Regions from separate parts of the Homo sapiens genome. Here region 2 is linked to region 1. Evidence: promoter capture Hi-C in human tissues and cell types (Jung and others, 2019). All regions are on one chromosome and are shown on one strand. The core of a region is centred on a gene start or on the middle of the fragment in contact, and the rest is flanking DNA. Distances in the headings are between cores, read along the strand shown. Region 1 holds the start of DMRTA1 (DMRT like family A1). Region 2 has its middle 40 kb from the start of DMRTA1.

The links. The method cuts DNA at HindIII sites, captures the fragments that hold promoters and counts their contacts. A contact is called where the count stands out against the background at its distance.
Region 2: a contact is called between a fragment that was not itself captured here and the fragment with the promoter of DMRTA1 in region 1, in 1 of the 25 tissues and cell types used here (pancreas).

Annotation. Positions count from the first base shown.
Region 1 is chr9:22,445,507-22,448,253 of GRCh38, reverse strand. DMRTA1 (DMRT like family A1) reads right to left here and starts at 1,430. Exons shown (of 2, transcript NM_022160.3): 1 at 522-1,430. The coding sequence starts at 1,188. RefSeq lists an enhancer at 755-1,254. The HindIII fragment of the contact is 10,852 bases long and covers 1-2,747 here.
Region 2 is chr9:22,405,482-22,408,228 of GRCh38, reverse strand. No RefSeq gene overlaps it. Among named protein-coding and RNA genes, the nearest start is that of DMRTA1, 40 kb to the left of the region's middle. The HindIII fragment of the contact is 4,176 bases long and covers 1-2,747 here.

The DNA of each region.
Region 1 (2,747 bases), core at 181-2,680:
TCTGGTTTTACAGCTGAAAACAGTCCAGAGCAGGGAGGATCACCTGAGCCTGGGGAGGTTGAGGCTGCAGTGAGCTGTAATGGCGCCACTGCACTCCAGCCTGGGCAACAGAGTGAGATCCTGTCTGGAAAGAGTACAGAGCAGACTCAAACACAGCACCTCTTACGAAGCTTTTCGCTCAATGCCTGCTTGAAGTTCTACTCACACAGTGAAAGTCAAATCAACTTCCGAGTAAATAACTCTACTCCTAGGGTGAATTGCTCATTTGTTACCACCCATGCTTCATTTTTTCATTATCTCATCCTATCACCTGAGGGAACAACAGTAAATTCCTCCAAAGTGAAGGCGATGGGGTCTCTCACACTCTCATTAATGTCCATATTGCTGAGCAGTTCCCCAAAACTTAAAGTGTTTCTTTTAAACAACTATTCCTGCCCGCCTATGGACACGGTGGCTTGTTTCAGAGTTTCTTTCCAGAACAACCATTCCTTGAGCAAAGAGTAAATCAAAGACCAACTCACCTTGTTTTTCCTCAGGATAATCTTGCTGGAAAACTTCGAAAGCGGGGGTCGCGGAACCACTGGCCTGTCTCAAGGCACCCAGTCCCAGCGCAGCCCCCGCCGCAGGGCCGCCCGTGGACTGTGGATTCTCGGCTCTGCCGCCGCCCCCGGATGCCCGACCACCGGGGGGCCAGGAGAGCCCCGAGCACAGGAGCCTCTGTAGCCCCCGGGCTTCGCTCTCCTCCTGCGCCTGCTGCCTGCGCAGCGCCACCTGGGCGGCCATGACGCGCTGGCGCTCGGCGATCAGGGTGCACTTGGCACACGCGCAGTCCCGCCAGCGGCAGAAGCGCTTGTGGCCCTTGAGCGCTGACACCACACCATGGTTACGACAGCGGGCGCACTTGGGCGTCCGCGGGTAGCCGCAGCCCACCGCGCCTACCCCGCTCTCCAGCCCGGGAGCCGGCGGGCAGCCTCCGCTTCCCGAGGTGGCGGCAGCGGCGGCGGCGGCCGCGGCCGCTGCTCGCAGAAAGAGGCTGGGCGGCCGCAGGAACGCTGGGGGAACCTGCATCCCCGATGGTACCGGCAACGCCGGGGACGGGGGCGGAGGGGCAGCCACCACTAGCCCAGGGGCCAAGTGAGGTCGGCCGCTAACGCCTCGGTCTCTGCTGCCACACTGTGACCGCTCCATTCCCGAGAAATTTCTGGCCGGGAGTCCCAAGTGGAAAGTGCGCTGACCGCAGCTAACCCTGCTGGGAGGCTGGGGAAGCCGGGGCAGGACGCGCCGTGGTCCTACTGAGCTCCACCCGCGCACGGACAAAAGTTTTACACTCTTTCCACTCGGAAGGAGTTGGGACGACCGCGTCCTGGAGCTGGAGACGCTGAGAGGTGCAGCTGTCCCGTGAGCCTGGCAGAGACCCCGGGCGCTAAGTTAATGCCTTTGTGCCTCCAGCCAAGAAGGCAAGGCTAGAGAGGCTACCCCGCCCACCCAGGCTCCCGGCCCAGCGCGGAAGCCGGGGGAGGGCCCGGGGCGGGGAGTGGGGACCTTCTGGGAGGAGGGCGGCGGGGAATCCGTCCAATGGGCTGCAAATGTCTCCTCCCCCAAAAAAAGCCCGTTTCTACTTGCTTCCCTAGGAGTTCTCGACGTCTATTTTTGTAAACTAGCCTTTGCAGCCTCCCCTTTTACTGCCCTTTTGAAATTAAGCAGAGTTTGAATTTCTCCTTTTCCCACTTCCACGCTTCTCCTAAGAAAGTCTGAAGATTTGGATTTTGAGTTCTCCTTTCGGGTTCCCAGATGAAGTCTTCATGTCTGCAGCAGTTTGGCCAATGTTAGTGGGATCCCAGCTTGATAGACTACGAATTTGTTACCCACCAGAAAGATGCCTTATTTTAAATGGGTCTTAGGACAGCATCAAAACAATGGATAAATAACTAAGGGAAGTGATTCACATTCAGATTCTTTTCATGCATTCTATTTATTTACACATGCGAATTTGGGTTGTGTGTACTCTATTTTAAAATACTGCTACTTTAAAAAAGTTATCAAACTCTTCTCTGCGCCTATTTATAGGCAGCGATTGTGTTAAAGCTGTTTCAAAAATACTTATGTCTATTGTAAAGTATTGGGGAAAGTCGTTTAGATCATTATTTAAATATGCTGTCATGAATGCATTCTTCACATATGAATTTAATGCCTTTAATTATAAGAAAAGACCATAAGGCGTTTAAGTCAAAAGAGCATCTGAGATAGAAAATTCATGAATGTTTATTCTTAATGGAAGGTAGCGTCAGCACTCTGCCAGCTCTTCAAGATGGTATCCAACTACCTTGGACAAGTTATTCATTTTCCATCCCTAAGATAGCAATTAATAATGATATTTTTACCATTCCACCTGTTCACATTCAGAGCAGATATTGCTGATCTATCTGGCCTTTCTCCTACCAACCTACTCAACACCATCACCACCACTACCATCCTCTCATACAAACATCCTATCGTAGAAGTTTTCCACCCTTCCTAAGAACTGGAACTACCTAGGGAACTTTTAAAAGAGATGGACACTCCAATCTACGTAATGTATTCTGATTCTTTTTGTCTGTGTCTTAAACTCTGAAGGTGAAAATTACATACAATGTTTAGAACTACCACTCAAGGAATTCCTAACCTCTGGGGGTTCTATGATATCCAACCTTTCTCACAACTCTTTATCTTTGTTCAAGCTACTCCTGCCTAAAATGTACTGATGCCCT
Region 2 (2,747 bases), core at 72-2,571, 40 kb after region 1:
TTTTTGTCTTCTGTTTGCATGGCATATCTTTCCCCATACCTTTACTTTGAGCCTGTAGGTGTTGTTACATGTGAAATGGCACTCCTGAAGACAGCACATGGTTGGGTCTTGTCTTTTTATCCTTGTTGCCACTCTGTATCTTTTAAATGGGGCATTTAGTCCATTTACATTCAAGGCTAGTATTCATATGTGAGACTTTAATTCTGTCTTCATGTTGCTAGTTGGTTGTTTTGTAGATTTGATTGTTTAGTTGCTTTATAGTGCCCATAGGCTATGTGCTTAAGTGTGTTTTTGTGGTAGCAGGTGTTGTTCTTTTGATTCCATGTTTAGTGTTCCCTTAAAGACCTCTTATAAGACTGGTCTAGTTAAAATGAATCCCTCAGCATTTGCTTGTCTGAGGAGGATCTTATTTCTCCTTCACTTATGAAGCTTAGTTTGGCAGAATATGAAATTCTTCACTGGAATTTCTTTGCTTTAAGGATGCTGAAAATAGGTCCCCAGTGTCTTCTGGTTTATAAGGTTTCTGCTGAGAGGTCTGCTGGTAGCCTAATGGGGTTCCCTCTGTACATGACTTCCCCCTGCTTTCTAGCTGCCTTTAAGATGCTTGCTTTTGTGTTGTCCTTGGTAAATCTGATGACCATATGCCTTGGGGATGATTGTCTTGTATAGTACATAGTCAGGGTTCTCTGTATTTCTTGAATTTGCATGTCAAGTTCTCTAGTGATATTAGGGACATTTTCATGGACTATATCCTCAAATATATTTTCCAAATTGCTTATTCTCTCTTTCTCAAGAATGCCAAAGAATTGAAGACTTGGTCTCTTTACATAATCTCATATTTCCTGAGTTTTTGTTCATTTTTTTAAAATTATTTTTTCTTCCTTTTTATTTAAGTTGATTCAAAGGACAGGTCTTCAAGCTCTGAGATTCTTTCCTCAGCTTGGTCTATTCTTCTGTCAATACTTCTGATTGAGTGTATTATGAAATTCTTGTAGTGAATTTTTCAGCTCTAGAATTTCAGTTTGGTTCTTTCTTAAAATAGCTATTTTGTCTTGGATTGTTTTAGTAGATTCCATGGATTGAATTTCAACTTTCTCCTAAATCTCAATGAGCTTCCTTGTCATTTAGATTCTGAATTCTATATGTCTCATTTCAGTCATCTCAGACTGGTTATATACCATTGCTTGGGAGGTAGTGGATTCATTTGGAGGTAAAAGGACACTGGCTTTTTAGCTCAATCAGATGAGATCAGCACATTTTAGGTGATATAGCCATAGACATGAAATTGCCAGAGTTCTTGCTGATTCTTTCACATCTGAATTATTGCCCTTGGTTTCACAAAGGAATATGCTATCAAAATATTTTTAGTGATGTATTATAGTTTGGGCTGTGATCCAGTAGATGGTGCTTAACAGTAATGGGCAGTAAACAGGCTTTTAGCCACAGAGCTCCTCTATATTTCCTTGCATTTGCAGCCATGTTAATTGCTAGAGGGAGGCAAAGAGGTGACTCCTTCACCAGGTCCATTCCTGGGCCTCGTGGACGCCCTCTCTGATCACTGGCACTGACCTGCATTTCTTCTGTTAGGTGTTCCAGGCCATGGGGCTCCCTGGGCAGAGGTCAGTTCCAGGTCAATCCTGCAGAAGGAGGCACAACCTAGTCTTGCTCTAGCCCATGAACTTATGCATCTCAATCCCCTCAGTTTTCTGGGAGTGTAGACTCCCACTTGAGTGCTGGCCACAAATCGCAGCTTGGCACTCCCAAGCTGTGCACTGCAACCCTGAAGTGCCAGGATCAGCTTGTGACTTTGACCTCTGGACCCTTGGATTCGAGTTCTGGGTGCCCTAGGGAATCCAAAGTGTTCTCAGCCTGCTGGAAAAGTGAATCGGTGGAGCGAAGCAACCAGACCGGGTAGCAGAGGCTGTGCTGTGCACATGTTCCCGCACGGCAGCCAGACAGGGGCCCTGGGAGGAGCTGGCAGGCAGGAGGGCCTGCTGAACAGATGTGCCCCGGTCCCACAGGGAAATGCCCCACTTTCTCCTCGCCTGTCAGTCAGCAGGGGCTAGAACTTCTCGGAGGGAGATGGGGAGCTCTGAGGGATGAGCGCCTGTGGCCATGCTCAGCCAAAGCTGCACTGTGCACAAAGACCCGTGGGTTCCTCCACTGCTAAAGCTCCTCTCTGTCTACTCTCTAGGAAGAACCTCCTGTCAACTTAAATGTCCATGGGGGATATGGGACTCGCTGTAGCCTGGATCCCAGAGGTCCATGGCAAAGCTAGGGAGTCCCACAGTCCCTTAACTCACCCATTCCCAAGGAGCCATTTAGGGCAAGGAAGCAGCTTCAGCATTTTGGTACCCAACAAAGGGTCCTCTTCTCTCTTCAGCCTCAGTGTCTGCATCTCATCTTTATCCATTCTTAGCATTTTCTCTTTGAAGATCAGTCCAGTATGTTGGTTTACTTAAAACCTTGGTTTCTCTTGGTAGGGGCAGTGCTTTCTGGTTGTGTCTAATCAGCCATCTTGTCCCCAGGATCCTGTTTGGTTTCTATACCTAATAGAGTTCTTTTACAATTCTCTCACATTACTGCTTATAAAAGTGGTTCATTCCTTTTTAATGCTGAGTAATAGTCCATTACATTGATATTTTTGATTTGTCTTTTTGCTCATCAGATAATGGATATTTAGGTTATTTCTAATTTAGGGCTATAAAGAATAAAGCTTCTATAAATATTCTATACAGATCTTTGTG